Linked DNA regions of Homo sapiens: region 2 is linked to region 1. The links are contacts of gene promoters, found by promoter capture Hi-C in human tissues and cell types (Jung and others, 2019). All regions are on one chromosome and are shown on one strand. Each heading gives the region's core, a stretch centred on a gene start or on the middle of the fragment in contact. The rest is flanking DNA. Distances are from core to core; before and after follow the strand shown. Region 1 holds the start of LAMP5 (lysosomal associated membrane protein family member 5). Region 2 has its middle 210 kb from the start of MIR8062.

Region 1 (5,798 bases), core at 1,489-3,988:
TGCTGGTCCTCTGGATGCTTGTCCTTACACACATACATCCCCTCTGAAGGTCTGCCTCCCATTGCTCTTTTTCTGACCTAAGTTTGATTTTTCCTTTTTCCTTTTTGGTCTAATTTAACTGGGGGACATCTTGCATCTAAACTTTGATGAAAAAGAAAAAATCCTCCTTTTACTGTGATAACAAAAAGGGGTGAAAAGGGAAAGATGACACATGTATTTTTATGTATTCAATAAAAATCCTTTCCCAACTCAGGTGCCTGGGTGATGAAGGGCCTCATTATGAGTGAAATAGACAACTTATAAAGAATAAAATAAATTTAAATGTGGTCTTTGACGGTGTCTGCAGATAGGAATATTGTTATTTGGGGGATGAACGCTCGTTTTGCCGAGGAGGATCTGGCTGAGTTGTCGGAGGGATGGGCCAGAAACGCTAGTAAATTATACATGGTGCAGAATCCACTGTCAGGTAGCTGCAGTCGATGACTGAATATCCCGTGCGAGCCATGCTGCCATGCGCAAAAAGACACTGAAGGCCATCACATCCTGACTGAAAAGGAAAGTCGCACTGCCCCCTTGCAGTTTTAGCGCATAAGAAACAAAACCAGGATGCGGAAGAAAATTAAAATGCAGCTTTGCCCTTCTCCGTGGTCCTTCAAAGGCCAAATCATAAGAGGTCGTTTTGAAGCACCAGGGAACGACAGGCCTTCAAGGGACTTCTTATCTAGGATCAGGCCACGGGTGACGTTTGGGTCCCCACGCCTGCGGTTCCTGGCGGATCTACAAGGCCTGAGACCCAGAAGACTCATGGGCGCTCCCGCCTCTTCCGCCCTAAAGAGCAAGCCGAGGGAAGACTTGGCCTGGGACCTCAAAGCGTGGGACGGTTTCCAAAACCTTGAGGAATTCTCTCTCCAAGCCTGTTCTGCGAGTTCCCAGGCTCCCTCCCCAGCCATGCCAGCCTCCACTCACCACTGACTGCGTCTTTGAAGTGGGTTTTCTCCGAGGAGTCGTAGACAAACTGCACTTTGCTCAGCCTCCAAGTCGCCTCAGGTCCCTTGGACATGTTGTGGCTTTCCTGTTGAGCCGGGGAGGTGCGCTTCAATCGTCCCCGCAGCGTCTGGGTTCTTAAACCTAGGGGCCGCCACTTCCCACACCCACGCGGAGCCTGCGGCCCCTCTGCCCGCTGGGCTCGGAGTTACCTTTACAAAGAGCATTTTGAGTGCATATGCGCGATCCACCCAGAACACTTGCAGCTCCGACTGGCTGTGGCCACAGCGGCCCTTCACCTCAGCTCCCCGGGTCAATGCGATATCGGCCTGTTCTGTGATCAGCTGGGAACACAGACGCCCCGCGCCCCCTCAGCTCGCCCGGCCCCGGGGCGGGGGCTGTAAAGGGCGGCGCGTCCAAACTCTGGGTTGCACGCTTGGGCGCTCCTTTGCGCGCGCGCATCCCAGGTTCCGGGAACATGCGGTTAGATGCTCTACGTGCAGCCCCGATAGGGAAGCGGAGAGAAGGGGGTTTACTTTCAAAGCAGGCAGGGGAACAGAAGGCATTACAAGCTGGAATCCCCATGCAGCATTCGGGAGCAGCCTGCCGGGGTGTGGGAAAGAAGGCGGGCAACCCAGGTCTTCGAAGAGCCTTGAGGAAGGGTGCCCTTCGCCCTGGAGCCCTAGGAGCAAGCTGAGGGGGGGGAAAGATTCCTTACATCTACGTAGTTGCTGGCCCACACATCATAAGGTACAATAAATTTGGCTGCAAACTCTGCCATGAGACACGTCGTCCCATTTTCCCGCACCACAAATATATCTTTTTCAGGGTTAGTGGAAAGGCCTGAGAGATTTTCCACTTCTTGTTCTGCCATGATTTGAGCCATTGTATCTGCGGAACAAACAAAACAATTCCATCAGTTCAGGGCTCAGCCCACGCGTCTCGGGCGCTAGGGTGGGGAGACAGTGCTCTGCAGGCTTTGGAGTGACAAAGTTCTCTGCCAGCAGCTGTGCGCTCTACGAGCCGTTTCTCTAACCCGGGTCTAACAAGCCTCATTCCTTCGCTGTTAATTTATAATGAAAATACAGTTAAAAAAATTAAAAATCCTGACTTTGTTTGTAATATAGCTGGCTGTTTTCTACATCTTGGGATTTTAAAGTAAATATTTCTTGCCAATGCTCTGACCTCACGAAGCTGGCCTGTCTAGGCTCTGTCTGGAATATGCCACAGAGGTGTATGGCTCTCAGGGGAATTCCCTGCCACCGGCGAGGAAGGCCCTCCCTCCTCCCCTAAAAGAAAAAAAGAAAAAACACCGCAAAACATTAAGGGCCATATTTTTTATCTCAAGCTAATTGACTTTACTTTGCCGGCTCTGTTCTCTGCAAAGAGTGCCCGTCCTCTCTCCCAGTCGCCAAATCGCTACTCACGGAACAACATCAGGAGAACTCGAAGTCTGTCGATGCTGGGGACCCCTCTTCCTTGGAGATCCATACTCGCAGTGCCCCGAATGAGGCCGGCTGTGCTGCTGCAGAGGCCGCCAGAGAGGGAATCCCTCAAAGTCGCCGCTGGAGTGGGCCGGGGTGAGCGAGAGGCGGGGGACAGAGAAGGGGGAGGGAGGGAGCGCGTATTCTGTGAGCGCCTAGCTAGGACTCGGTGTCGAGCGCGGCACCGACAGCTGCTGGCAGAGCAAATCGGCTCACTGCGGAGGAAAGGACCGCACGGCGGTCCACGGCTGCGAGTGCTGAAAGCAATCCGATTGTGTGGCAGGAGTGGCTGTGGCTTGGCTTGTGCGGAGGGCCAATGAGATCTGGGGGGACTAAACTTCTCCCTGGGTCTGTTTCCTGTTCTGCAACTGCATCCGCAAAGATGAGTCTGTTCTGAGAAACTTAATACCACCCTCAGCCTTATTAAATCTCCTTACCAGGTACAGTTATTAAGTGGTGTAGATACCTTATCACTGGAGTACTGTCTTCTGAAAACGCATCTGGTTCCCGAAAGAAAACGGTGGAGCAAAAATTGTTGCTGATTCGGGGGAGGAGGGCTATGCAGGAATAGAGAAGGGAAAATGCTATGGCAACAGTTTCCTGAATTTGGAGACATCCCCTTCTCTCCCCTGCTCTCAATGAGCTCATGGGTTTAAAGTTAAATTGACGCCTCCTCGAACGAGGCCATCAGACAATGCAGTAGCTCCATGTGGGCTTATTTTCCTGTGAATTTTGCTCCCGGGTGCATGAGGACTCTGAACTCTGGGGTCACCTACCCTCCCGCATTATACTGTGACCACTCTGCCAAAAAGGGATGCAAGCAAATCAGAAGTTTTTGAGAGTTATCTAGTGTCTCCTAGGACAGAAATTTTAGAATTATGCCCTAAGTAATGTCACATAGTTATGTAAGAAAAACACACACTGATATTACTCTAAAGCCTGTAGTGGAACAGAAGAACAAATACTACTGGGCTAATTCCTGTATTTACATATTTGGTAGCTTGCTTATTTTTTATTTTTGCTCTGTAAATCAGAATACAGCTTTCAAAAATACACATGCAGTCCTCATCAATTGTAGTGATGTCCAAATATTTTATTCCTTAGAAGATATTTCATAATGCAAATAAATGTTGCATCAGTAATATAATGTTATAAAACAATGTCATATTAAAGGGAAAATTGCAAAGTATTTCACCTGCATTATCTAATTTGATTCTCCCCAATCTTAGAGGGTAGGCAAGGAAAGATATGAGTTACTGTGGTTTTACATACCCCAAAACTGAGGCTCAAATAAATTAAATGACCTTCCCAAATGTCACATGGTCAGTTAGAATTAAAATACAAAAATCACATGCTTTAACTCTGTGAGATTATCTTCATTTCTCCTTATATAATATTTTTACTCCATATTTTGACTTCCATAAAAATCTATATTCAATATCAAATAATAATCTGAAATCTGAAATCTCTATCATTAATTCACATTCTTCAAATTTATAGAATGCTGTTTTAAGTATAATCACATTCTGACATATCTGCCACAAAGTATCTATATAATGTTTTTGGCTTTCAAACATATTCCTATATCAATCATTAGATCACTAGCAATTCAAAGTATAAAGTAATATTAAAATTGACATTATATTTTGACATCTTGACTTTTATGTTTGTAGTTCAGTATTTCATCCAAACATTTCTCAAGAACTTTACAAAGATGATTATATATAGAAGAATTGATGCAAATTTTACAGAACTTAACAGAAATGATTTTATACAGAAGATTGATAAAACGTCAGTTCTCATCAGTTGAAAGTGGAAGAGATAACATTTGTATGTGTTACATTTTTTCATGTTAGCAATTATTATTAAACACTTATTTTCCTGTAGTACTGTAAAACTGGAAAACAATGAGACATGTAATAAAGTATTTATTCTCTCTCTCTCTCTCTCTCTCCAGTATTTTATGAGGACAGAAATGAGTAGATTTCAGTCCAGGATTCACTACTTATTATTTTTGTGACCTTCTGAAGATTTTATTTGTTCTCATCTGAAAAATTGGGAAAATAACTCAGGGGATGGCTAGTTAAACCAAATGGGCCAATGAGTATAAATAAACAAAGTACAAATAGATCCATAAACATTAACCGAATACTTACTACTTCCAGTATGCTTGATGCTTTGAAAACCAAAAGATATTTATCATTACACAAGTAGGAGAGACACCTATAAAAGATTTTGACAATTTCTCTTGCAGTATGTTATTGCAGATATCTTCACTATATAAGTTGTTAAAAGATCAACTGAATTAATTCATGATTATCTGCCTTAATAATAAAAGATTAGGTGAGTAGTAGCATTGGTCATTGATCTTAAAATGTAGTAGTTGATTTACAAATGAGATGGTTGTTCCTTTGAAAATTATACCTGATATAAATGATCTCTTTGTTGACACTGGAGAGTGTACCCTAGAGTACTCAAATGGGTTGAAAGAAGAAAGAAAGCAATTTTAACTCTTTTTTTCTGGGGGGATTATTTTCAAAGCACAATCAGTTTAATGACTTTTTTAATATTTAATCTTAAACATGGCTAACAAATGCCCATTAATTTATCATCTTATCCACTGTGATACATTGCAATAGGAGTTAGGTCATTATACCTACAACTTTCACCTACATTAATTAAATATCTTTCTAATCATTCTGGAAAAAAACTCTTTGGTTCTCTAAAATAAGCAAAGAAGTGATCAAGGAGCAAAATTTGCCATTAAATTGCATTTTAATATATTAACAATGTTCCCCAGAATTTGCTCTACTTTTCATTTCTCAAGTCTAAAAGATGGTAGGAGAAATTGACATAAATATGTACACCTGTGTGGGTGGTAACTGTGTCAATTTTTATTATTGCTGCTGGTGGTCAGTAGAAACTGTTAGGGTGCAGTGTGACCTAAACACACTGGATTTGGGATCTCCTCTAGATCTTCTAGGTCCTTCAAAGGCTGTTTTTCAATTCATATGGATACTTACTGAATTAGCCTTTATGAATCTCATGCCATTGAGTGGTTGCTGTTTTATAAAAGGGCAAGAAGAGGCCCTTGCATAGAACTTTCAATTTGGATGAGAAGAATTTACATAAAGATTCCAGTTAGCCTAGCACAGTGTCTGCATAAATGTTCAGGGGGAAAAAAAAGTAAGACAGGCATCCCAGGTGGGAGAGTGGTTGAAATTGATGAAAAAAGGTCTCTTGGAGAAGGTGAGTCTTGAAAGAAGTTGACAAACTGATGTAGGGTGGAAGGAAGGATACGGATGGAAGAAATATCTATTGAATAGGGAA
Region 2 (5,798 bases), core at 1,078-3,577, 1.9 Mb after region 1:
CTGCCAGAAAATGAGGTAGTTTGCCATTGAGAGGCTTGAGGAGTGCCTAAATGTGACAAATGATCTGATTTTCAATAAACGTAAACAAAATATGACAATGTCTAATCTAAGCTTTTAGGAGAAGCTTCAGATGAATATACTAGAAAAAATAACCCTAACAATGGTGAAAATTCAAGGGTATTTCAACTACATTCTAAGATTTTTCTTACTCTCTTTGCATTTCAATTCTCTAATGACATCATGGGTAATTTGTATCACATGTACACCAAGAACTATATGAATGTCGGCAATGCCCTCTGGCCAGTATTCAATGGTAAACAATGATGTAATATATATCATAATTTCAGTGTTATTGTCTCATGGAATGAAACACCTGTTTAGTAAAAAAAAGCGAAATAACTGGGCTATTGAATGTTTTGTTTGCTTGTTTTTTCTGAAACAGCTTGGCAGCTTAAGGAAGCGTGCAAATGAAGAAATCACAGAACTTCTTAAGTATTCACCCATATAATTTATATATGAAAAGAGTAATTCTTGAATAACTTTTAAATAACAGCCACAGACTGCAGCAAGACTTCTAGCTGGGTATAGTACCTCCACAATACCAATACATCAGCAAATAATCTTTTGCATACACTTCCTAATTTACATGATCCTTGTTTAATTCCTCTTGCCTGTTAGATTTCTAACTCCAGAGATTTCAACAAGGAAAGTTTGTAGCTAAAAATAGCTCAATAAATTACAGATTTCTGTAGTTGGAAATAGAAAAAAAATGGTTCAGATGTACTTAAATCAATGGGAGGATCAGCAGCAAGCATTTTGCAACACTTCACAAATAAAACAGAAAAATTGGTACTCTTTGTGGCAAATTATTAGTGATGGTCTTGCTCATGAACTTTACTCTTTTGCTAAATTGGGACTCTATGTGGGCGTGCGGGTGACTCGATGTTGCCCAATATTTTACTTGGCTGTTCAGTTCTCTAGTGCCCTGGTTGCAAGAAGATTCTTCCCTGTGACGGAAACAGAGTGCTGCAGATCAATGAAAGCTCCCTTTCTGGTATACTGTAGCTACCACTCCTCTGTTATGTTAAGGATGAATGGAACCTGACACACTGTTTCTCAATCTCAGGAGAGTCATATTGCCACACAGTTGAAAGGTGCAAGGAACGGCTGTGTAGAAGAAAAGAATGGAGTAGCTGTTTAGTCAAATAGCAACTCTTAGGTGACTATTCCTGTTGGGCTCCTAAAAGCTGTTTCTCTCTGGTCTTGTTATTGAATGTGAATGTGGGTCACGGAAGCAATGCCATCTCCCATTCACACAGCTCAAAGCCAAAGTCCAGTTCCTTGTTTGTCTTCCATGTAAACAGGACAAATTGCTTTCTCTGCATGGTGTAATTTCATTGAAACTTTATATTCTGTTAGGTAAAGGACTCTTATTTTTCCTTCCTATTCATTCAGCAAGCACTTCATGTCATTTCAGGCACCATCTGGTAACAAGTAGTATGAGGGGAAATGAACTATGCAATAAATATGGCTTACATTTATTGAGAGCTTCTTATGAGCCAGGCATTTCTGAGCTCTTCACATGTATTAACTCATTTAATATACCCATGAGATAGGTATATTATTATGCTTATTTTACAAATGAGAAAAGTTAGGCAGAGAGGGATTAGCCAGTGGTGGAGCTGAGAGTTGAACCCTGACTCTAACCATAGATGCTACTTTGTTAATTATAGAATGGCAGTTTGCTTTCATTCTAGGGGTTAAGGGTCTATATTCTTACAGCAGCAGGAAACTAATGATTAAAATCTTGTATTTATTGATCTGGCTCTTGCTTATAAGACTACACACTTTGTAACAATTTAATAATCTGTACATTTATGATATGTGCACTTGTAAATATGGCTTCAATGCATAATTTAAAATTGAAAAATAATAATCATGGATGCAAAGCTGTGGCAATGTAGAGCAGCCTGTGTGCGTGAATGCTGGAGGCAAATCTTTAACATGATGGCTGTAAGACCTGTAATCAAGAATGTCTGTGTGCATGGTCCTAATCAGTGTTATCACTGTGAAACCAGACATGCTCGAAAATCTATCCATTAGTATATATGTTTTACTATCAAACCCTTAGTGTCATTCTTTCTAGGAAGAAGCAAAAGAAACTTACATTAACTATTATAGATTAAGAGACTAAATCAAATCATATGATTCAAGTTTAAAAATTTGGTATGAACTTTCACTTAAATCTATACCTCTCTCCAATACTTCTTTGCGCTCTTAAAGTGCCTGTGCTTAGAAGTAGTAAGGCACTTAAGATTTGGCTTTAACCCACAAAACTAGGAGGTAAAATTTCCACAGGGATCAATGATAAGTGTAAGCCTTTTACTCCCAAGAAGAATCTAGTATCAGCATAATCTTTAAAGAAATTATTCTTAGCCTTGGTTTTCCAGAATCTGGTAGAGTAGTGGCCCAGTTCTACTCTCAACCTTGCTATTCTTGGACCAATACTTAACACATTTTCTACCATGAACTTAATAGTAATAACTAATTCTGACAATGATCAACATTTGTTGAAAGTATACTATATACTTGGGCTTAACTAGGTACTTATATCTATTATCTCATTTAATATTTGTGTAAACTCTTGAGGTGAGTATTCATGATAATTAATTTTGTGTGTCAACTTGACTGGGCCATTGTGTGCCCAGATATTTGGTCAAACATTTTTCTCAGTGTGTCTCTGTAGGTGTTTTTGGATAAGACTAACATTTTAATCAGTAGACTGAGTAATGTGATTGGCCTCCTAATGTAAATGGCCTGTATCCACACAGCTGAAGGCTGGAATAGAGCAAAAATCTGACCTGATCATAAATAAGTAGGCATTCCTCTTGCCTGACTGATTGAGCTGGGACAATAGTTTTGTTGTTGTTGTTTGTTTGTTTGTTTTCCTGTCTTCTGACTCAAATTGTAACATCAACTACTCCTGGGTTTCAAGCCTGCAGGCTTTTGAGCTGGAACTTATACCATCAGATCTCCTGGGTTTGAAGCCTGTAGATTGAGACTGAAACTGACACCATTGGTTCTCCTGGTTCTCAGGTCTGTGGATGTGGGCTGAAATGATACTATTGGCTTTCCCAGGTCAACAGCTTGCTGACTGCAGTTCTTGAGACTTCTCAGGCTTCACAATCATGTGAGCCAATTCCTAAATATGTATGTATATATATATTTAGGAATATATATATATGAAGATATATATATATATATATATATAAATCTAATGTATGTGTATGTGTGAGTTTGTGTGTGTACATAATTGCCTATTATTTTATTTCCCTGGAAAAGCCTCATCCAGATTTTGGTACCTAGAATGGTTTTACAGGAACAGAATTTTAGGCATGAGTTTTATGAATTGGTTCTGGAATTCCTGGAAATGGCTCTCTTATCTGATTAGGTTTAAAGGCACTAATAACACTATTTCTAGGAGTTAAGAGAACACAGATAGTCCATGGCCCTGAAATGGCAAAAGGGATAAACAAAATATCACCATTGGTTACTCCTTACCAACCATTTATAAGGATCAAGGACTTGGGGAATTGTGTCTATGATGCTTTTGAACGTTCTTGGCAAACTAATGAATAGTAGGTTGACATGATTCTCCTAATAATGTTGCTGGAAAAAGTGGGAAAAATAAAGAATTAGCTTAGGAATTTGAGTTTCCAGCTTAAATGCTACATAAATGATCTGACAGCTTTTATATCTGCCCCAATGGAGACCTTGGTCTCCTACAGCTGTAGGGTTGAGATGCTGAAAACTAAAATCAGGCCTTCATCTTGAATTACAGTGCAAATAGACCCAGATTTGTAGGATGTGCACTGTTGAAGTGAGGGCACTGATTGGGAAAGAATGACATGGATAGGGAAGGAAAGTTGAAATGGGGCTATGTGGGAAGATCCTCATGAAATTGGGAACATTGAGCCCCTAAATTTTTCTTGCCAGCGGAAGAGACCTCTTCCTCCCCATTGGGAATGTGGCTTCTGCACTCTCATCTAAGGGGATTAACTATGATTGTCTGAGAAAACAACAATGACATCCCCTGAAAAAGTTGCCATAAAAGTAAGTCCTCGCTGTCCTGCTAAGAACCCACACTTTTAGCCTAAGAATGCATTTTGGAAAAAAAATACAATAATTAATATAAAAAGAAAAGGTAAAGAACCCACTGTCTTTGTTTCTGTATCTATACCAGACTTAAGGTCTGGTAGGTCTCTAAAGGCAGGTACAATGTGTTACACACAAAGAGGTATACTACACTCAAAATATCCACTTGGTTTTCTAAATATGTAGAAAGAAATCTGGGGAACATGGGTAGGAATAGATACTAAAGGTATGGGATAATAGTAGAAGAAACAAAGTTGCATCAGACAAAATTTATGGATGTGGGTCTACAACAGGCGGCTGACAGTAATGTCAGACCTGCCTGGGTTTACTGTGGAGGAGGGGATTCAAAGGCCTAGGGAGATTAGAATGTCGCAGTGAGTTTGTCATTTAAAACCAACTCGCTCACACTGGGAGGATACAGAAGACATACCTTTCACCAATACTGTGAGAAATAAATTTGTAATGGAAAACCTAACATGATTTAAGTGCTCTGTGACTGTTCTTCTCTATAGGCCAGACTCTGCAATGGGAACTGCTGTCAGTAAATTGGAAAACCTAAATACAATGTGAGTAATTGGATCCTGGGGTGCCAGGGGTCAAGTGGTGGCACTCAGCGGCCCAAGTCAAGGTAGAAGTAGTTACTGTGAAGGACAGCAGAGATGAAGCAGCAATCAGAATAGTCTGACTTGCGCAGACCTCTGGTGTTGGCTAATTTACCATGGATGGTCCTTGAAGTGAAATAAGTAGAAAGCATACTAAATTCTTATTTGATCTGTATAAGCAGAAAATTTCTAGGTTAAGTTACCAAAAGTCTAACCTGAATCACGAAAACAGAAAGACATGGCCCCCCGCCTCGATCGATTTCCAGACTTGAGCCAGTTTAAAGACCCAGAATCTTTTGAATAAAGAGGAATCTAGGTCCACTTATGGAAAGATCTCTGTACACTGCCAAAATTTATACTGTTATTCTTTCTCCCAGCCCTCCTCAAAGTAACCTATGGTCTTTAATAGAGTAATTATATACTGGGAAAAAGGAAATAACCAGATCTTTCAATGACTACAAGATACTGGTTGAACTAACACTAATCCCAAGAGATCTCAAAATTAACTATGGTTCATCAGTCAAGGTACAGACTTATGAGGATCAGATGATCAGTGGAGTTTTAGCTTAAATCTATTTCACAGTGAGCTCAGTGCATCTCTGAACCTATTCTGTGATTATTTCCTCAGTTATGGAATGCATTATTGCAGTTGATCTACTCAGTAGTTGTCTTAACCCCCACTTTGGTTCCATTACCTATGGAATGAGGGCCATTAGGATGAGAAAGTCTGATTGGAATGCAGTAGGATGGCCTCTACTTAGGAAAATAGTAAACCAATAGCAATACTGCATGCCTGGAAGAATGGTAGAGATTAGTGCCACCATCAAGATCAGAAAGATGCAGGGGTGTTTATTCCCACCACCTTTCCATTCGACTTGTCTGTGCAGAAGACAGATGGATCTGGGAGAATGATAATGAATTATCATTCTCATGTTTGACCAGATGATGACTACAATTGAAGCTGCTGTACCAAATGTAGTTTCATTACTTGAATAAAATAATACATCCCCTGGTACCTGACATGTAGCTATTGATCTTACA

What was found. The method cuts DNA at HindIII sites, captures the fragments that hold promoters and counts their contacts. A contact is called where the count stands out against the background at its distance.
Region 2: a contact is called between a fragment that was not itself captured here and the fragment with the promoter of LAMP5 in region 1, in 1 of the 25 tissues and cell types used here (dorsolateral prefrontal cortex).

What each region holds. Positions count from the first base shown.
Region 1 is chr20:9,511,530-9,517,327 of GRCh38, reverse strand. It overlaps LAMP5 (lysosomal associated membrane protein family member 5), which reads right to left and starts at 2,738. Exons shown (of 6, transcript NM_012261.4): 1 at 2,412-2,738; 2 at 1,703-1,875; 3 at 1,197-1,328; 4 at 967-1,072. The coding sequence starts at 2,475. LAMP5-AS1 (LAMP5 antisense RNA 1) reads left to right here and starts at 2,330. Exons shown (of 5, transcript NR_109957.1): 1 at 2,330-2,564. RefSeq lists an enhancer at 1,219-1,803. The HindIII fragment of the contact is 16,129 bases long and covers 1-5,798 here.
Region 2 is chr20:7,580,753-7,586,550 of GRCh38, reverse strand. No RefSeq gene overlaps it. Among named protein-coding and RNA genes, the nearest start is that of MIR8062, 210 kb to the right of the region's middle. RefSeq lists an enhancer at 1,175-1,469. The HindIII fragment of the contact is 4,418 bases long and covers 119-4,536 here.